Regions from separate parts of the Homo sapiens genome. Here all the other regions are linked to region 6. Evidence: promoter capture Hi-C in 16 types of primary human blood cells and fetal thymus (Javierre and others, 2016). All regions are on one chromosome and are shown on one strand. Each heading gives the region's core, a stretch centred on a gene start or on the middle of the fragment in contact. The rest is flanking DNA. Distances are from core to core; before and after follow the strand shown.

Evidence for each region. The method cuts DNA at HindIII sites, captures the fragments that hold promoters and counts their contacts. A CHiCAGO score of 5 or more calls a contact.
Region 1: a contact is called between a fragment that was not itself captured here and the fragment with the promoter of RSL24D1 in region 6, in 1 of 17 cell types (non-activated CD4 T cells). The highest score is 6.2, in non-activated CD4 T cells.
Region 2: a contact is called between a fragment that was not itself captured here and the fragment with the promoter of RSL24D1 in region 6, in 5 of 17 cell types (naive CD4 T cells, non-activated CD4 T cells, activated CD4 T cells and 2 more). The highest score is 10.4, in naive CD4 T cells.
Region 3: a contact is called between a fragment that was not itself captured here and the fragment with the promoter of RSL24D1 in region 6, in 1 of 17 cell types (activated CD4 T cells). The highest score is 5.5, in activated CD4 T cells.
Region 4: a fragment that was not itself captured here is called in contact with the fragment with the promoter of RSL24D1 in region 6 in 9 of 17 cell types (naive CD4 T cells, non-activated CD4 T cells, naive B cells and 6 more); the score reaches 18.3 in naive CD4 T cells.
Region 5: a contact is called between a fragment that was not itself captured here and the fragment with the promoter of RSL24D1 in region 6, in 1 of 17 cell types (non-activated CD4 T cells). The highest score is 5.1, in non-activated CD4 T cells.
Region 7: a contact is called between a fragment that was not itself captured here and the fragment with the promoter of RSL24D1 in region 6, in 4 of 17 cell types (non-activated CD4 T cells, naive CD4 T cells, total CD4 T cells and 1 more). The highest score is 11.3, in non-activated CD4 T cells.

Annotation. Positions count from the first base shown.
Region 1 is chr15:49,613,651-49,616,367 of GRCh38, reverse strand. FAM227B (family with sequence similarity 227 member B) reads left to right here. Exons shown (of 16, transcript NM_152647.3): 2 at 1,125-1,247. The coding sequence starts at 1,197. Among named protein-coding and RNA genes, the nearest start is that of FAM227B, 5.8 kb to the left of the region's middle. The HindIII fragment of the contact is 173 bases long and covers 1,259-1,431 here.
Region 2 is chr15:49,150,277-49,153,369 of GRCh38, reverse strand. The region is part of intron 1 of COPS2 (COP9 signalosome subunit 2); the gene reads left to right. Among named protein-coding and RNA genes, the nearest start is that of COPS2, 3.8 kb to the left of the region's middle. The HindIII fragment of the contact is 6,239 bases long and covers 1-3,093 here.
Region 3 is chr15:48,879,477-48,882,531 of GRCh38, reverse strand. All of the region lies in intron 4 of SHC4 (SHC adaptor protein 4), which reads left to right. EID1 (EP300 interacting inhibitor of differentiation 1) reads right to left here. Exons shown (of 1, transcript NM_014335.3): 1 at 2,359-3,055. Among named protein-coding and RNA genes, the nearest start is that of EID1, 2.9 kb to the right of the region's middle. The HindIII fragment of the contact is 2,452 bases long and covers 332-2,783 here.
Region 4 is chr15:48,812,028-48,814,782 of GRCh38, reverse strand. No RefSeq gene overlaps it. Among named protein-coding and RNA genes, the nearest start is that of CEP152, 2.3 kb to the right of the region's middle. The HindIII fragment of the contact is 4,636 bases long and covers 1-2,755 here.
Region 5 is chr15:49,040,825-49,043,952 of GRCh38, reverse strand. The region is part of intron 1 of SECISBP2L (SECIS binding protein 2 like); the gene reads left to right. It also overlaps the pseudogene RN7SL577P. Among named protein-coding and RNA genes, the nearest start is that of SECISBP2L, 4.1 kb to the left of the region's middle. The HindIII fragment of the contact is 5,750 bases long and covers 1-3,128 here.
Region 6 is chr15:55,195,454-55,198,433 of GRCh38, reverse strand. It overlaps RSL24D1 (ribosomal L24 domain containing 1), which reads left to right and starts at 1,493. Exons shown (of 6, transcript NM_016304.3): 1 at 1,493-1,624. The coding sequence starts at 1,544. RefSeq lists enhancers at 1,529-1,688, 1,482-2,373. The HindIII fragment of the contact is 1,416 bases long and covers 92-1,507 here.
Region 7 is chr15:48,333,584-48,336,314 of GRCh38, reverse strand. It overlaps DUT (deoxyuridine triphosphatase), which reads right to left. Exons shown (of 7, transcript NM_001025248.2): 3 at 1,807-1,898; 4 at 225-269. Among named protein-coding and RNA genes, the nearest start is that of DUT-AS1, 3.1 kb to the right of the region's middle. The HindIII fragment of the contact is 2,422 bases long and covers 112-2,533 here.

The DNA.
Region 1 (2,717 bases), core at 96-2,595, 5.6 Mb after region 6:
GTTTATTATTTCATAGTTCTAGATATTTTCACAGATAAAATATCTGTGTGTATATGGAGAGAGAGTATAAGCAAGCAAGCTCTCTGGTGTCTGTTCTCATAATGACACCAATCATATTAGAGCCCCACTCTTTTAGTCTCTTTTAACCTTAATTGTCTCCTCAAAGGCTCCATCTGCAAATAAAGTCACATCTTGTTATAAGTGTTAGGGCTTGAACATATGAATTTGGGGTGGGGGCATGATTAGGTCCATAACAGTATCCTTAATTTAAAACTCCCCCATAATTTCAGGTTCAGGTTCAGGGAACATAACTAGCAGTGTCCACCAAACATTTAAGGAAGAAAGGAAGAAATAGTACTGATCTTTCAGATTTTAAATTCTTTCAGATAATAGAAAAAAATAGAGGCATTTCCCAACTCATTTTTTTTGAGACCATAATAGCCTTAATTCCAAATCTTCACATTATAAGATAGAAAAATTCAGGCCAATCTTTCTTATAAACATTATAATAGCTTATATTATTAGCCTTCCCTTGTCCATTTCTTGTTATATGCATGTCGTTTGTCATGTGACGTAGTAGAACCTCCAGCTTCATGAGCAGAATATATTTTCCAGCCCTTCCTCCCCTGCTGCGTTAGTCCGTTCTCACATTGCTATAAAGAACTACCAGAGACTGGGTAATTTTAAAGAAAAGAAGTTTAATTGACTCACAGTTCCACAGGCTGTACAGGAAGCATGGCTGGGGAGGCCTCAGGAAACTTACAATCATGGCAGAAGGTGAAGGGGAAGCAGATGCGTCCTACATGGCTGGAGCAGGAGGAAAAGGGTGAAGGGGGAGGTGCTACACACTTTTAAACAACCAGATCTCATGAGAAGTCTATCACAAAACAGCACTAGGGGGATGTTGCAAAATCATTAGAAACCACCCCCATGATCCAATCACCTCCCACCAGGCCCCACCTCCAACACTGGGGATTCCAACAGTTCAACATGAGATTTGAGTGGAGATACAGAGCCAAACTATCTGACTTGGTAAAAGTCAGAAGTGAGGTTTGTGGGTGAGGGGAAAGGGATTGTTTGGCTGAGTCATTTATTTTTGCATTTGGGTGTCTTTCATACCCCAGTTTGGTCGCCCAACTCACATTGAAGCCTAAGACCCAGCTGATTTCTCTTCATTTCTGCAAAGTTACTGTACCATGGCAGGCCAACGAACATGTCAAAGGAGGAGCAGCAGAGCTGGCCCCGGGGTAAGGAAGCTTCCACAGCTTTATGTTCACTTACAAAGGTTATATTTCTCTTGGAATTTCAGGTAATCAGGGCTCCCAGGTAGAGCTGGCTTTGTCACTGAAACACCAAGGGTTTGGTCTAGGTCTTAATGCTCGCTGCACAGATGGCCAATCACTGAGATGAGTATTGCCAAGGAAGAAAGCTTTAATAGGGTGCTGCAGCCGAGGAGATGGGAGATCAGTCTCAAATCCATCTCCCTGACTGACTAAAATTAGGGTTTTATATAGCAAGGAAGAAATGTAACCATGTGTGGGAAAACAGAAATTAGGGAGTGGTGGTAAGAAGGAGGAGTTGGTTAACAGGAAACAGGTAGTCAGTTAGGCAATCATGATGGGTGATGGTGAGGAGTCTAGAGGCTAATTGTCAAGATATAGTGATTTGGTATGTTTTAGTTCCTTGACACTATCTGGGAGGCCTGATGGTTAGTTTTCTGGGAAAGGAACTCAGATAAGACCAATGTAACTTTCTCAAGTTTTAAGACTAGAAGGATTAATTTCTATATTTATTTAAAGAAACCATAAACATTAGTTCTATGGGACAGTTAGGCTTGTTTTTAGCTTCATGGGTTTACAACTTCTGCAGTTGCACAGGGCCTTATGCTGAGAAGTACATGCATTTGGTTTAATGCTCTGATGTTATTATCTTCAAACTCAATAATTTTGAACAAGGAACTCTGAATGTTTACAAGTTATTTAACTGGTCCTGCCTCCTGGCATTCACCACTTTTCACTAACCCCATAGAAAAATATGATTTTTTTTTTGTCCAAGTTTGTCTTATTATTATCATGGAAGTGTAGGTGTTTTATATCCTTCTACATCCTACCAAAAGTAGAAATCTGTTTAATTTATACCTTACCTTATTTTAATTTTACCCCAAAAGAAACATGGAATTTTTGAAATTAGTTAGAACTTCACTATGCAAGTTTCACTTTCTTCACTTTTCTAATTCCCTTTAATTTAAATGTGCATATTATTTTTGGTGCTTTGTACTTGGAGTGGTTTGACAGCCATTACAAGAAAAAAAAGTCAATGCTTAAATTGTTTTCATTAAGTTTGATTCTGTATATTTGTAAATGTATTGTGAGTTCCTTCTAGCCAAATTGCTATACCCATGAAGCTAGAGATATTATATCGTGAGTATTTTTCTGTCTGTAAGCCTTTTGCATGCACCATCTCTCATATCTCTCATTCTTTTCAATTTGACTAGCTCTAGAGTTCCCTGTTTCCCATAACATGTTCTTCACATCTCTATGCATCTTTGCTTCTGTCTAAACATTTGCTTTCCTTTTTCAAATTTTTATTTTTAATTTTTAAGGGTACATCATAAGTATATATATATTTATGGCATACATGAGATAATTTTTGATACATACAATATATAATAATTATATCAGAGTAAGTGGGGTATCCATCATTTCAAGCATTTATCA
Region 2 (3,093 bases), core at 511-3,010, 6.0 Mb after region 6:
TGTGGTTTTGATTTGCATTTCTTGGTAGTGATATTGACCTTTTTTTTTTTCATGTATGTGTTGGCCATTTGTATGTCTTCTTTATTTATTTACACATGTATATATTTTTAGAGATGGGATTTTGCTGTGTTACTCAGGCTGGGCCCAAACTCCTGGGCCCAACCAATCATCCCGCCTCAGCCTCTTAAGTAGCTGAGACTACTGGCACGTGCCACCATGCCCAGCTGTATGTCATCTCTTGAGAAATTGCATTTGTATTATTAGTTTGTGTTTGTAAGTGTTTCTGCTTACCTCTTTCCTAAGCAATAGTCTGTTGGATACATAACTTATTAGCACTGTGATCAAGCTGATGATCATCTTTGAGAATGTAATGTAGCAATAGCAGTGAGAATCTTTTTGTCCCATGAAGTACTTGATTAACTTTTGCAAGATTTTTTATTAAACATACAGTGTTTTAACTTGGTCATATTTTCCCAGCCTTTTAGGGCCTACGCTACATGAGCAGTAAAATGAAGTTGAATATATAATTGCTTTAACTTTTTTTTTTGAAACAGAGTCTCACTCTGTTGCCCAGGCTGGAGTGCAGTGGCACAATCTCAGCTCACTGCAACCTCCGCCTCCCAGGTTCGAGCGATTCTCCTGCCTCAGCCTCCTTAGTAGCTGAGATTACAGGCGCCTGCCACCACACCTGACTAATTTTTTGTGTTTTTATTAGAGGCGGGGTTTCACCATGTTGGTCAGACTGGTCTTGAACTCCTGACCTCAAGTGATCTGCCCTCCTCAGCCTTCCAAAGTGCTGGGATTACCGGTGTTAGTCACCACAACCAGCCTTGTTTTAACTTTTTTATTTCTTAAAGTAAGATTTTGCACTACCACATAATGAAATGAAATGTTGGAGTTTTCTGTTGGGTTTTTTGTTTTTCTTTCCCTAGCGTTCTATTAAATAGCTCTTCCTCCCCTCATCTGTCTCTCATCAGGTGTCTAATTGTAAAATTATTTATGATCAATTTACTAACAGTTAAAACTTTTGGTGGCATAAAACTTATTTAGTAATTTGTTTTTCATTTCCTTAAATCATATATTTAAAAAAAAAAGATTAATGAAGCAGGTTACCATTTCATGCTTACCTTTTGCCAAAAGAGTTTTTCTTTTTTTAAAATAGTTATTTTGTCTGGGATTTTCTTTTTTTTTTTTTATGTTTCTTAGTATTTAAAAAATGTGCGTAATTGACTTGTTTTCTCAAGATTTATTTTTATAAAAAATGTATTGTTTTTTGGAAAATTGATCATCACCTCGTTTTAGTTAAAGTGTTAACTAAGAGCAGTGAGTATTGCTGACCACAGTGATACTCAGCATATCTTTATTGGTCGTCCAATGATATATTTTAACACCCTAAATCACTTTGTTCTTCCCCAATCTGGTAGAAATAGGTAGTTAGGATACCACCTGAAAAATTAAGTCTGTTTCTAAAACTGTACTGTTTTTACCCAAGAAAGTAAATAATGATTTCTGCCCAAGAAGAATCTAAAATAAAACAAACTTGTTATTTAAAAAAAAAAAAAAAGAAACGAATATAAAAGAAATTCAACATACATGCATGATCATGTATGTTCTAAGATCTGTTTGATTTTCATTAGAGGCAGAAGCAGGCATTTCTAAACATAGTAATCTGTGGTAGGTGATGGTGCTAGTAAATGACATTTAATGCAATGCTAATTTTACAGGTTTATAGATTATTTGCTGATCCAGTAACACTAAATAATAATCATAGTGCCATTCATTAAGTTGGTAAGGCCATTGATAAGCTAACTGTTTTAATTCCGCAGTCCAATCGTTCTACCGTGAAACTTCTAATAATCTTTTTAGAAAGAATTTAAGACCAATTGACTTTATTCCAAAAATTAGTCTTTAGTAAGTCCTGTTATATGTAGGATATTATATATTTGAATATAATTTTTTTTTTTTTTTTTGAGACAGAGTTGTGCTCTTTCGCCTAGGCTGGAGTGCAGTGGCATGATCTCGGCTCACTGCAACCTCCACCTTCTGGGTTCAAGCAATTCTCCTGCCTCAACCTCCTGAATAGCTGGGACCACAGGCACCCACCACCATGCCCGGCTAATTTTTATATTTTAGTAGAGACAGGGTTTCACCATGTTGGCCAGGCTGGTCTCAAACTCCTGACCTTTGGTGATTGGCCTTCCTCGCCCTCCCAAAGTGCTGAGATTACAGACGTGAGCCACCACGCCTGGCCTATATTTGGATATAATTATTTAAATGTATTACAAGGAAAACATTGTCTAAAAGTTAGAATAATTCCACTTGGTTAAATATATGACCATATGACCAGCTGTGAGCCTCATTATATTCCCCTAGTCAAGCTCATAGTTGGGATTAGGGGATAAATGTTTACTAGTATTGTTCTTCTTGTCTTAATATATAGCAGTTTTATTTATTTTTTTTAACTTTTAGGTTCAAGGGTACATGTGCAGGTTAGTTATATAGATAAGTTCGTATTACAAGGGTTTATTATACAGATTATTTCATCACCCAGGTACTAAGCCAAGTATCCAATAGTTATTTTTTCTGCTGCTCTCCCTCCTCCCACCCTTCTCTCTCAAGCAGGCCCTAGTGTCTGTTCCCTTCTTTGTGTTAATGAGTTCTCATCATTTAGTTCCCACTTATAACAGAGAACATGCAGTATTTGGTTTTCTGTTCCTGCATTAGTTGGGTAGGAAAAATGGCCTCCAGCTCCACCCATGTTGCCATTATTTTTTATGGTATAGCAGTTTTAATGCTCTACATTTTTACTTATTTGTCTATTTTTTTGTGTGCAGTGGGGAGGTAAATGAGTCTTAGCTACAGGATCTCTTACAGACTCTCGTATTTGTCATCCTTTTAATAAAAAGATCAGTAGAAAGATGATGGTCGATTGCCAGTGCTATGTACATAGCGAACATGTATTCAATATAAATGTTAAGTTCAAAAAATATCAAAGACGGTATAATCCATATTATCCCAATTTTGTTAGGTGGGAAAAATATAGAAAAATGTCTGCAAATAAATTATCAATGGTTTTATTTATTTATTTATTTT
Region 3 (3,055 bases), core at 308-2,807, 6.3 Mb after region 6:
TTCAGTACCCTTCTTTAGGGCAAAGTATTACTACCCATCCATAATCTTTCAGGCAAAACAGAGGTGAGGATAACGGGTGGTTTTCATTACCAGTAACTATAGTAATATGATGTGCCTTTGAAAGTAATCCATAGCTTTTCTGCACTGGTGGCATGGAATGGGTTGTATTCAGCCCACTGCTAGAGTGGGGACCAAAGTTAAGATCTCATTTATCTCAGACCTGAGGGCTGATTTTTAATAACTATTTTGAGCTTTCCTGCAGGCCTAGGGGAAATGGCTGGGGGATATGGGGGAGAGATGTGCCACTGTAGAGGCCTCAACTCAAGAAGCTTTATTTCCCATGAGAAAGGCAACTAAAATGTTTAAGAAATGAAGGCAGCAAAGATGAGAGACCTTGTGGATACAGCACAAGAAAAGGATTAATTAAATCCTTAATGCTACCACTGGAAGTTCTAAAATAAATACAAAGAAATACTAATGCCTTCCCCATCCCCACTTAATTTCTAAGATATGCTTTGGACTGAAAACAAAGGTTCAAATTTATGGATATATTCATAGATGATAGCATTTATGGAACGGATAGTTCACATTTATCTTTGGCCACTGAGAACATCAAGAATATAACAATTCATTCCCAGAAAATATTTTACAAACCTCCAGAGGCAGAAAATATTAAACATGCGATGCTTGCAATTTTTAAATATTACCATATTTCAGGATGGGAATACATTTTTGCAAGGGTAAGTTATAGGTATTTCCTTGTTTTAAAATTCAAGCAACAGACTTTATTGACATACTTTAATATAGTATTTTAGGGCCTCAAGCAAAGTCAGAGTCTCAGTTGCTCACACTCCCACTAATTCTTTACTGATTTCTACAACTCTAACAGGTACTGAATTCAGAAGGGTAATAGAGTTAAGGTAAAACAGGCAAAAATTGAGACATCCTTTAGTCTCTACAAGGAGAGGCAACTTGAGATATTTAGAGGCCAAGTAGGTAATGCAAGCTGTGCAAGCACAAGAAAAAACAATGGTGCAGGCCCAATGATAAATGTCAAGTGCTACCTGGCCTCTGTGTTGGGGAGACAACACTGAGGGACTTGGCAAACAGAATCTTCCTTATCTAAAGGTGAATCAGATGGTTTTTTTTTTTTTTTGCTTTGTTTTTTTGTTTGTTTGTTGGCTACATAGGTCTATAGGTCAAAGGCTCCCAGATCTTTTACTTTAAAAAAATAATAATAAAAAGGTAAGAATCTAGATTTTTAGCTGCTGTCTCTGTACTGAGATGTTGGTCTCTTAAAATTATAAGCATGAACCAAACAAAATAGATCTGTGGCCTGAAGACAGTCAACATGGGATATCTGATCTAAGCGAACATTTATAATATGTATGGATAAATTTGGAAAACTCTCCCTAATCACACCGTGTACTCAAAATCTTCTTTAAATCCCCTACCTTGCAAAATCAGAATTTCCCCAGAACTCCTTTCTCTAGCTTCCTTAAATGAAGACACACACACACACACACACACACACACACACACACACTCTCACACACATCATCATTTAGTCCTCACAATTTGTAAGGTACATCCAATTGTTCCTATTTTCAGTTTAGGACATGAGCCAGAGAGATTAATTTCCCAGTTACTGAGCTAATAAATAGTAGAACCCAAATTTTAACCAAGTAGTCTGGTTTGTCTGTGGCAACTGCATGTAAAAGAAACACAAATAATTTTACACCCCTAAAAGGGGTGTTAAAATGTTTTCTATCCTCAATAAATACAAGTAAGTATTTACAATTTTCATTGTCTCTCAGCTTACTGCCTATTTTTAAGACTGAAAAACAACCAAGTCAATTGCAGAGCCCAGGTTTTTCTCCCCAAGATGGGCCTTCAGATGGAATAGTGTTTCCCACCCCCACCTCTTTGCCCTACTCAGTCCCAGAGAAAAACAGAATCACAACCTTCTAGTTTGTGGACCTCAGATTTTTTTTTCCAAGAGTTTATCTTTCCTAGTAAAGATAAACTTTCCTGGTAAAGATAAAGATCTGGAGGTAAATACAACCAGCCAGTTTATTGTGCACTAGCATACCCCCACCCACACTAATTTACATCATCCATGCAATTAATTACCTATCCACACTCATCTGACCGTAGCTGCACGCTAATTGAGAAAGCAGTGGAAGAGGCAGTAGGATTAAGTCTAAGCACCAACATTTTACTTCCACCATCTCTCCCTCCTAACCCAGCTAGTGTCTGAGCAATTCTGATCAGCCTTGTCACAGTCCTATCTTTTACAGATCTCTCTCCCCAAAAGACAGGATGACCATAAAATAAATAAGGCTCTGAATTGTCCTGTTGCATTGGATATTCGTTCTTTACTGCTATAATGGAGCAGAAGCATTTGGAACATTTTTACTGATCATGATAAAACCTGCTGATACACTTATTTTGCTGAACCTAGCCTTCTGATGTAATCATTACTCTCCTAGAACTTCAGCATCTTAGTAAGGTAACCACGGCAACATACTCATTGATAGGGCAGGTTTTCCCAGACCAGCAAATTCTTATAGGCAAAAACTTAATTTACAAAGTTTAATTTCCAGAAATTAATTTGTGAATTAGATAGCTGAAGCTGGATCATTTTCCCTTAATACTGGTTAACACATACAATAGAAAGTAGTATACAGAGAAAGTATGTATGCAATACTATTAGCCAAACAAAATACACAGAACAAGAAATTTTATTATCTCCAATGCTGGTGCATGACAAATAACAAGCTTAATTAGAGGAGGAGACAGAGGGAAACTTCAGATACCAAGGTAATTTCTGGGCAGGTTTAAAACCTTTAAAAGTTGATAGAATAACTGTTCATAAAGTCTTTTTAGATATAGCGCTTTTTACTTGACAACTTTTATTAACAGTTCTTACAATATGAAGTTCAACTAAAGTCCTTCATCTGTCAAGTTAAAACAGCAAGCAAAACAAAATTTCTCTAGTATATAACAGCATAAGCAATGGTTTGTTTTCTTTGTACATTCACACACATTTAGT
Region 4 (2,755 bases), core at 15-2,514, 6.4 Mb after region 6:
AAAAGCTAAACTGTCTGGCTTTTCAAAGTACAGGAACCAGACAGATACATGGCTTTCAGTGGCAAAAGTTCATGATCTTCAGTCTAGGGTCTACCATGTATATGACACAGTTATGGAGGAAGCATATTTCCCATAAAATACAGGCAAGTGTAATAAAAGTCTGCTTCTCCTCTGTATGGCTACCACCTTGCTCAGTTTTGTGGAATCTTAGTTATCTGGGAAGGGAATACGATTGGCCCAGCTTGGGTCTAGTGTTCCCCTTTGATTCAGTCAAGTCTGGCCAGGACCGTGGGTGGTAGGATGGTGATGGTGGTGAGGTCATAATGACTGTGAGCAGGAGCAGATTCTGTGAGAAGGGACTTGAGCAGAGTGGGCATTTTGATCCACATGTCAATATTAAATGATCCCAGCACAGTGTTTGGCACAAAGTAGGTGTTCCCAAAATACTGTTGAATAAGATGTAAATAATGGTCTGATCTTCCTTGGTTCTTTCCAAGTACTCCTGTTCCATCTCTAGCACTTCCTATTTTTGTCCTGTTCTCATGAAGCCATATCCTTTGTGTAGACTCTTTGTTTGTCCCATCCCATAAGCTCCTGTTGCCCTCGGCACACATTCACCCTTGTCTTTCTCTGCCATCCACTCCCAGAACACCTTCCTGGTTTTTCCTTACTACCTCAGACCCCAGTGTGTACTCTAATCCAATAAGCCATAGTACATAGAAACACAATGGAAAATAATGTTTTTACATTTAAAAGCTGTTTCTCACAATCTCATCTCATTTTTTTTTGGCCACAATCCTGAGAAGTGGGTATTATCATCCCTATTTTCAGATAAGGACTTTGAGGCTTTTGAGTGTTAAATTGTTATGGACAATGCTAGTAGGTAGGAGAACTGGGACTTGAACTCAGATCTTCTTACTCTAAGTTCTGTGTTCCTTTGAAGATAGTACTCCTTGATGATAGCACTTTGGATAGCACTCCTGTGATGACATTGCTTTGACCTGATAGCTTTGACACCAAAAAGGAGGAAAAAGGAGAAATAATGGTTTAGCTTTACCTTTATAAATGCTTGTTAGTGGGAGGGACCCCATCTCATCAACAATGTGACATTTTCTCTTGAAATGTCTCACCCAGCTCATAGGTGTGCCCATTTAAAACATGCAAGGTAAACATCGAGCCAACGTTTCACAAATAATCTTTTGTCCAGCATTTGAGATCTTTGGCAGTTTTACTTTCTTCTCCCACACTTGCCTTTCTTATCCCAGAATGCCTCTGTCTGCTTGTGTTTCTTTGGATGTTAGATTCATTCCTTGTGCACACCATTACCTGACCTCTGTAGAATGCCCTTCCTATTCTCCCAGGCTTAAAGCTCTTCTATGGACCACCTCCTTCCTGCCTTCTTCTCCAGACTTACATCTAAATGTAAGATTCCTGCACTTTTGCTGGTCTGGCCTTTAAATTGCACTCATGCTAATCAACTGACCTGTTGAGCTCTCTCCTTCTCTTCTTCCTTGAACCTGCCTTGATAGATTCATCTTTAGGTGTTCACTTTCCCTAGAATTATTGCCTATTCTACTCTTATTACACTTAGTAAACAATTTTTATTATTATTTATCTTTCTACGTAAGCATCTTGTAACTCAGAGTGTTGGTACCTTGAGCATAGGGGTCCTACCCTGCACCTAGGCCAGGACTTAAACAGGATAGGTGGTCAAAGAAATTTAGTTGAATATATCCATAACTCCACCAAAAACCATTTTTAGAGGCATGGCAGGATGGGAGGTTGATTTATTCTTTATTTTCCCTCTTTGTCACGTATATGCTAGTCTCACTAAAATATTTTGTATGTAGTGATGAGCTCTGGGTTTGGAGATAAAGGACCTGGTTTCAGATTCTGTCTGCCTTGTATTAGCTGTGTAGCCTTGGACAAGTCATTTAATTTATTTTTATGTAAGTTTCTTCAACTGGAAAATGGGTAGGAATACCTGTCCTAACCCCCCACAGTGTTGTAGTGAGAACCAAATGAGATGATGCTTGTGAAAGAATTTACCAATCTGTAAAGCACTGTGTAATGGATTATAAACACTGCCTCCTCATGTGCTTACCCTGACACGTTTTATGCTTTCATCCTTCTAAGAAGCAGTTGTTTGTGCATGGGGATCACCTGGCATTCTTGCTGCAGCACTCCATCATAACCCTCAGCACAGAATGCAACATACAGTTTGCCAATCGACTTCAGTGGGATGTGAAAAGTGAAAAGTGCATTTAATTCTCACTAAGATGCCTTGGCTCAGATTCAACAAATGCCATTTACTTGAAGGCCTTTTATTTGCTTTTTCTGCCTGCCCCCCTGCCAAAATCTTCATCTATTTGTTCATTTATTCATTTACTCATTTAACATAATTGTTTTGAGTGCCTACCAGGGTCATGTTAGACACCCAAGAAGTAAAGTGAGTACTTCAAGATATTCACGTTGTACTGAGTGTAAGACACACAAAAACTTACAGTAGATAAAAGAACTATAATAGGATATATAGGATACACTGTGTACAGAGGTAGGAAAGATCATTTTTGCGAAGTGAGGGAGTGTGTGTCATGAAAGGCTTCAAAGGAGGTGCTAGTCTGTCTTCAAAACTAAGTAGCAGGAGAAGGTAGAGGCGATGCAGGTGAAAGAAACAGCTTTCACAGCAGGTGAAAGAAAAAAAGCGCTCTGGGAACCATTGTTAGCTCAGGCTGTGATTTCGTTCATTCTATTA
Region 5 (3,128 bases), core at 405-2,904, 6.2 Mb after region 6:
GCCTGAAGGCATTCATGTTCTTGTTCTTGTGAATTACCTTTTTTTAATATATAAAATCTTTTTATAGAAAAGGTAAATTGTATGTGTGCTGATCAAGATTGTAAAAAGTAACTTACTGGGAATACAGTGCTAGATGGATAATCTTAATTGCAATAATGATTATTTGAAAGAATGTTATAACTAGAAGAAAATCTTAGGAGTATCCTCTTTCAGCACTTTTTATAGAGTATTCTCTGTATTTAATCAAAATAGCTAGCTTAATTTTAACTGCCAGAGTTAAATATTCTAAGAATATGTGTTGCTTGGTATATAATGCATTTTTTCCCCTGAAAAAAAAAAAAAAACTTGCATTTTGAGATGTGAAGGATAAATCATGGAGTTCATTTTGTTTATAAAGGCTTACTGGTTCTATTTTTAGGAAATTTATTGAGATTTTTTAAAGTAAACAATGGGCTTAGAAGTGACAGAACACTTGAGGTTAACAGTCTCTTTTCTGTTATCACAAATAATTTAAATGTTGGCTTAATTTTTAGTACATTAACATTAGTTCTTTTAAAAGAATTTATAAGATTACTAGTTATTAATGTCTTTAATTTTTGGAAAAACTAATGAATACGTATGATTTCATGCAACATGCGTTTTACCAATCAGGATAGAAAATTGTCTAGCTTTTCATTGTTTCCTTTAAATAATTTATAAACTTTAAGTAATGTCAGTACTCCAAATGAAATGTATTCTAAATAAGTTATTTTAAATGTTTATTATTCAGTAATACGTATAGTTGGCCCTTACGTAAGGATATAAGTAAATGAGCTGTCTTATCAGATTTAAAAAATAATATGTTCATAATAAAAAAGTATTAATATATACATTTAGGGAAAATAGCATTTGGAAATTTAAAAAGACATTTTCTGTTTTTTCTTTTTGAGACGGAGTCTCACTCTGTCACCCAGGCTGGAGTGCAATGGTACTGTCTCAGCTCACTACAACCTCGCCTTCCCAGTTCAAGCAGTTCTCCTGCCTCAGCCTCCTGAAGCTGGGATTACAGGTGTGCACCACCACACCCAGCTAATTTTTGTATTTTTAGTAGAGATGGGGTTTCACCATGTTGTCCAGGCTGGTCTCGAACTTCTGACCTCAGGTGATCCACCCACGTCGGCCTCCCAAAGTGCTGGGATTACAGGCTGAGCCACTGCACCTGGCCAAAAAGACATTTTCAAGCTCTTAGGTCAAAAAAGAATAAAAAGTAGTATGATAGGTTATTAAAAATGTGTTAATAATAAAATACCACATATGAAAAACCTATGGGGCCCAGCATGGTGGTGTACACCTGTAGTCCCAGCTGCTAAGGAGGCTAAGGCAGGGGCATCGCTTGACCCTACCTCGGTGTTCTGGACTGTAGTGTGCTATGTGGATCAGGTATCTGCACTAAGTTCAGCATCAATATGATAACCTCCCTGGAGTGGGGAAACTCCAGGTTGCCTAAGGAAGGGTGAACTGGCCCAGGTCAGAAATGAAGCATGTAGAAACTCTGGTGCTGATCAGTAGTGAGATCACACCTGTGAATAGCCACTGTACTCCAGCCTGGACAACATAGTGGGACCCCATCTCTAAAACAAACAAACAAACAAACAAAAAACCTATGGAATGTGGCTGAAGCTATACTCTGAGGCAAATGCATAGTCATAAATGCCTTCATTGTTAAACAGTTTACAAGGAGAATGAAAATTAAGCATCCAAGGCAAGAAGTTAGAGGGGAAACTCCATCAAATCAAAAGAGAAAATAATAAGTTAAAAACAAAGTAGTGGATAATTCAGAAACTAATATTAAATCTAGAAAGCTGGTTTTTTAAAAAAGTAACCATCAGATTTAAAAAACATTAGATTTGGTCTGTTTTTTAAAAAGGAAAAGTATGGGTAGCAAAGCATTCTGCCCAGTATGGGCAGAATCTAAGTTAAATACTTTGATTTGTCTTCCTCATTATTGTCTGGAGTCTGTGAAACTTACACGTGTAAGTACTGTGTTTTGTTTCGGCATTTTAATCAAAAAAACAGCACAGCTAGTAGTTATCTCTTAAGCATTAATCATTTTTCCCTTCAGAGGACATTTATTTTATCTTTTGCCATGAGATGTAAAATATCTTAAAGTTTGAGATATTCTATTTTTACCTTAACATAGAAAGAATATGGAGGGTTTCCATGGTCATATTTTTTCTGTGGGTGTGTGGTACATACTCTGGAGTTTCACTGTGGGAGAGTGTCTCGTTATGTTCCAACTTCAGTTTTGATTTTAAGTGGGTGTCAGTTTTTTATTGCTTAATCTGGGAAAATTATTTGCATTCATCTGGAGGTTCCATGTCTGAGGAATTTAGTGTACATTCTCTGCCGACGTGTGCTTTGTGGTAATGTTTGCCCATTTTCCCTAACCCAGTCCAGCACAGTGCTCTTTCCGGAATGTATGCTAAATGCACGTTTGTTGAATTATATAGGCTCTCAATGATCTGAATACATTTGTCTAATAAACTCTTTTAAATAACATTTTTGTTTCATACTCTGACAGAGTCTTGAGCTTTCTAGATTATTTACATCAAAGGCATTTTGTTTATAGACATTTGCCTTAATGTACACAAAATAAAAAGTGAACATGAAACTGCTTAAATATTTTTACAAAGATGATTCTGGGACTATGATTTTTTTCATTAATTTGGAAAATTCTGAAATAATTTCTGAAAGATGAAGATAGTTTTGCTATGTAGATGGTTGTGCTTTTTTGTGAAGCAAATAATACAAGAATGATTAGACTTTGTTAAGTGTAGTTTACATTTATTCCATATTTATTTCCTTTATGAAGACAACTCTCTGCTATGAAAGTTCTTATTCCTAAAAAATAGATCTTGGCAAAAGTAGAGAGACTAAACACAGAAATTCAAACTGAGGAATAACGTTCTATAATGTATCTAGTCTAGTTTTTTCATACATTTTGTTGTTCACTATGCAAGGCTTTTTTTTTTATTTGTATAATAATATAATTAAAACACTGCCAGAATTTGTTATTTATTTAACATGTTAATGTTATGGGCTTTATTATGTGGACTTTTAAGAATAGTTTGGGATCGGCCGGGCGCGGT
Region 6 (2,980 bases), core at 244-2,743:
AAAGTACCAAATCCAAAATCATAAAAAAATTGGATAAATCTGAATATATAAACAACATATTTCTGCATGGAAAAATACCATGAGCAAAGCTTAAAACATTGATAGGGAAATAATTTCTAAATGCATGTCAGCAAAGGACTAACCTTAACGTGTAAAGTGCTGTTGAAAATCAACGAAAGAATAGAAAACTGCGTAGGACCTGAACAGGCAATTCACAGAAAAAAGCTGAAAAACATTGTGAAAGATTCTTAACATCATTTGTAATTAAATTCAAGTTGAAATAATAATAAGATAAATTTTCATCTCAGGTTGGCAAAGATCACTTTTCACAGCGGGGTAGTGAAACAGACATCTTATTTGTTGATGCTGAGTGTTAATTGGTAAAAACTTTTGGAAGGCAATTTAGTATTATCTGCCAAATTTTAAAACTATTTATCTATATCCAGCTCCTCTGATCCAGCAGTTCTACATAAACCCTCTCCTGAAAAAGCGTACCAACAGATACTTATTATATCAAAAGATAAGAATGCCCATCGATTAGTGACCAATTAAAATACTTTCATACAATGGCATATATATATGAAAAAGAATGTTAAATACCCTTTTACAGTAAAATATGTATCAAATGCCTATTATGTGCCAGGGACTGTTCTAGATACTGGGATGTAGTTGTAAACCAAACGAACTGAAATCCCTGCCCCTCATGGAGCTCACATTCCAATGAAGGGATACAAGGTAACAGCAAGATGCAGAAAAGAGTAAATAGCATATTAACTAGTATTATAAAGAAGAGGACGTAGAGACAGGCAAACACACAAATATACATGTTTGCCTATGCACAGAAAAGCTCTGGCAGGTAATAAATGGAACTGTTTTGCCCCTGGGGAGGAAGACCGCAGGTCTAGGGAGGGAGTCGTAGTTTCCGGCGAAAATATTTGTTTACTACATATGCATATTAATTAAAATGGGGGGGAGGCGGATAACACGATTTTATATTTAAAAAAATTGCTGGTAAAGTCCTTGGAGCATCAGCAACTCAACCGTTTTCATTGCAATGTTCGAAGCAACGCTGGATTGCAGGGTCTTCGCCGCTTACACCCTGCAAATCACTGTGGGACGAGAATCGAGGGCTGGTCTAGGGCAGGCAGTAGACAAATGAGTTAAGAGAGTGCTCTCGAGAGCACTCCGAGGCAAAGCACAAACCAAAGATACATAATACTTGCATAAATGCCGACACACAGAGAGAAAAAACTAGGCGCTGTGAGAGCAAGTTCACAAGGTGGCGCAGAACCACATTTCCCCAAAGTAACAGCGAACAGGTCTAGTCTGCAGCTCTGCGCCTGCGTCAAACGGCAGCGCATTTGACCACACGGCCGCCGGAGGCACAGTCGTGTTCGCATCTGGTCTAACAGACCCGCGAGAACGAAGGACGCTTGCCTTTTTCCGGTCGGGGAAGGGGGAAGAAGGTAACTTCCGGTGACGGGGTTGCATCACTTCCTCTCAAGCTTGGCGTTTGTTTGGTGGGGTTACACGCGGGTTCAACATGCGTATCGAAAAGTGTTATTTCTGTTCGGGGCCCATCTATCCTGGACACGGCATGATGTTCGTCCGCAACGATTGCAAGGTAAGGCGGTCGACACCAGTTCTTGCTTCAGCCTAGCTCCCGCGGTTCCTGGGCGCGGCGGCTCGGTGCTGGGTGCTTCTGCGTCTGCCGTGTTTGGCCCGGGTTCCTCCCGTTGTTCCCCTGGGAGGGTGGCTTAACTGGGCCTCCGTTCTCAACGTTCCGCTTCGGGGGTTTCTCCTTGCCCGTCTTCCGAGCGGCGCTGGCCACCACGCCACCCTTGGGTGGCGTTGGCAGCGAGGAACTTCAGGAGCGATCCCAGCTAGCGCCTACCAGGAATCTTGGATGTCTGTGAGGGCTGTTTGGCCACTCATGTACTTGGGCCAAATTCTTGAATCCAGTAAACTTTGTTGAGTGTATACCCTGTCAGGCATTACACTAAGGTCCATACTAAAGTGTAGAGGTTGATGGAAGTGTTCCGTATTGCTTAATGGTAGAGTTATGTATTAAGTTACTGCAGGTGAGTTGGGGAGGGTCCTGTACGGAAAGACTCAGCATAGAGGTGATATTTATCTTGGATCCTGAATTTTGCGGAAGAAAGCGGAGGGGGCCTTCTAAGTGGAAGGAAAGTGAACATTTTGAGAAAAGGCAGAGAACGGAGCAAATACATTTGTTTGAGGAAGTGACTGGATTGTAAATGATGATAGAGCCTTGGGCGTAGGGCTACAAGTATAATAAGTCTGTAAACGTAAATAATAAATATGAGTCCTAGTTGTGAAAGACGTTTTGAATGGTACATGAATTTGTCCTGTCATTACAGAATGAATCCCGTTCCTCTCTTTCTCAGAGAAACACATTGTTTCTCAGAATTTGATCTCTTACGTTTGCTTCTGAATTACTGGGCGTTTACAGATTCCTGGTTTTCACCAGATCTATTGAGTTGGAATCTTTGGGGGAGGGGAAGAGGGTCTAAGAATCTGTATATTAAGGTGAATTTGACGTGCTAAATAATTACAAGTCTGACTTCTTCACCTTATATCTCTGTAACAGATCAAAGATATTGACCTCATTAATTAGATCCAAGGGATTCAGCTGAAAGTGACGGACCAAAGCCATGTTTGATAACGTAAAAGAACCTAGAAGATTTTGAATACTTGCTCTCAGGAACATGATAAGAAGTTTATAAAAATGAACCAAAAGATTGCCAGGTTGGGGTCTAATTCAGAGTAGGCAGTATGGTTTTATACATGATGTCGTTACGATTTTGTGATTTTCGTCCAGGATGCTTGTCGGCTGGATATTGGAATTAGAACAACAGATCGTGAGAACTGTCAAGACCTGGGTATTGATTTGGTAGACACAGTGGAAGTTAAGTTGATGAAGAATAAGGACAGTGTTGAGTTGGTTGGGAGTCACCAG
Region 7 (2,731 bases), core at 73-2,572, 6.9 Mb after region 6:
AATCTGTCATTATTAATTAGGTAATCATTATTTTAAAAATTAAGTTAGTAGTTAAACAAAATATAATTACTTAAAATAACCACAAAGCTTTTCCTCCTATTATAACAAGCTTTCCTCTAATCATTTTCTTTTCTTAAAAATAAAATCTGTCATTTGAATATTACCTTTTAAAGACAAAGTAAATACTTGCAAACATTTACAGAATAAAAAAGGAAATATATTACCTCCTACATCAATAAAGTGTTTTGCAGCCAAGCCTGACCGTGGAGCTAAAAAACAAAAAAGGAGACATTGGTTATTTTAAGGGGGAAGGGCTATATCAGAGATAACTGATGCAATTTAAGCATGTCATTCTCTTCACCTATAATATCTATATCTTCATCTTAACTTTAGCACATGGTTTTGAATTAAAGAATATATATTCATCATACTGCATTACCAAAGTTGGAAAGACTAGTTTAGAAAAATTCCACAAGGTTTTAATTCAAAACTAACTTAAACCACTCCCATGTGACTTCAGTCAGAATTTGTGGTGCTGCAGACAGGGGAGAAGGACTGCTAGAATGAGCTGAAAGGTGAGCAAGCGGGAACAACTGTAGGCTGCTCTTTCAAGAAGTTAAGCCTCAAAGGGGAAGAAAGAGAAGTATGGCCAGCAGGAACACACTACTGAGGAAGAAGACTTTGGTTTTAAGATGGGACACCACAACATGTACAATGCAGATGGGAAGGGAAAGGAAGAGGAAGGGAGAGGGAAACAAACCTAACCAAATAGTAGCAGACCATAGCCTACAACTTGGGACCCCACTATTCATGATTCAGATGCCAAAAGACATGCCTGTAGGAAACACATGAACCAGAGTAAGATAAATGGGCTAATATCAGTTAAGTAAAAATGCCAAAAACTAAGTCTCAATGATTCAATGCTAGTATACTTTTTAATCCTAAAAAATGAAAAAAATAAAAAGCTAAGGTTACACCTTATTATTGCAGACTCAAGCATCAGGCCTATAATTAATTATCCTAACTTCCAGCATTTTATTTTAGAATAATTTAAATCAGGCACTTTGTCAATAATGCTGCCTCTTTCTGTACTAACCTTTATTTCACTCCATCTCCTGCCCCTTCCCCTGAAAAAATTCTAAAAAATGGAGTCAATGATGCTCAAGAGATGAGATGAGAGCCCATCTTGTTATCTTTTAAGGGCTGAAGTACTGGCAGTTTCCTCACTCATGGCTAATAATATAGTGCCAGTCTAGCTCCTTTCCCTGGAGGAGGGCGTCACAGCTCCATTGCCTCCTTTATGTTTACTCTGAAGTTAGTCAAAAAGAACTTACGCTCTTGCAAAGAACTGTCTGGTAACAACTGATCCGCTCCAGAAAAATCAAACCTGTTGACGTGTACTCCATTTTGTCCTAGCTCCTCCCAGTGCCTCTACAACACTGAAGAGTATCCCTTACCCTAACCCCATGGCCAAACAAGAAAAGGTTAAGTAGGCTTACACATTCTGGGACCAACAGGTCAGAAGTTTTACTCTCATAATATAAAATGCCATGTTCTGAGAACAGCCTTCTAGGCCAGTGTGAGCCTAAAAGCTCCAGTGAGGAAGGAGAAAAATAAAAGGGTCAAAAAGAGGCAAAGCAGAGATGTAAATAAAGCCTTTCAAAGAGTGCATTTGCTATCACAAATGGTGCTTCTTTTAGGACACAGCCCAAGCAATATTGCCTGCTTATTACCCCAAATGAAACATGAAGAATCTATCACAAAGGAGAACTTGACAAATAGTTACCTGTTTCTTAAATGACTTACCCACTCTTCCATAACACCCAGAAGGGAGCGCTATCTGAATGTCCGTTTTCACAACAGCTTTCTCCATAGGTGGTATTGTGTAATCATAGGCACTAAGAAAATATTGAAAGAAAATAACTGCAAATCTATTTATAAAATTGTTTTTATATTTTCTTTGTGACCAAGCATACAAAATTACTTTCAGTGTATTTAATGAATTAATGCAACTTTAGTTTCTAAAATCAACCTTGCTATGATGAATTACCAATTCATCTTAAAAGTTTATGAAGAAGGTAGAGGTGGCTATTTTATTATTAAAAAGACAGCTTTAGATAAAATAATTCTCCATGAATATTTTTGGTGGTGTGAAGAGATGTCAACATTGTAAATGTTTGCCCCTGAACAAAAGTTTATTGGAAACTGAGGTACTTATCAGCGTGAAAGGGCAGAAAGGCAAACTTTCAAAAGGTGGATGCTTTACAACCATAGTTTGAAAAGGAAAAAAATGAAGAAAGAACAAAGAAAAAAGGCCAAATACTACTAATAATACTAGCTATCATTGATTAAGCCTTTACTGTGTGCCAGGAACAGTTCTAATTGGTTTACATATATTAACCCATTTTATTCTCACAATGATCTGTGTGATTAGGGAAAATATGCAGAAGGAAAGGAGAAAAACGGGTGGACAAAATAAGAGATAAAGAACTGTGTTGTATCTGTCAGGCAGGGCTTGGTAGTTTACCAAGCTTAGGCTATGAATTTCCTGGCTGAGGGAGACAGCTGATCACCGTGAACGGCCCCTGGAGATGGACCTTGCTTAGGAACAGAATTCCTCTAAAGTCCACATAGCAAATGCTGCTACTCTTGATATTACTGTGGCCCTCTCCTGGGTAGAAATTTAAGAGATTTTACAATGAGCAGAACCGGAAGTTTACTTTGGAGACCT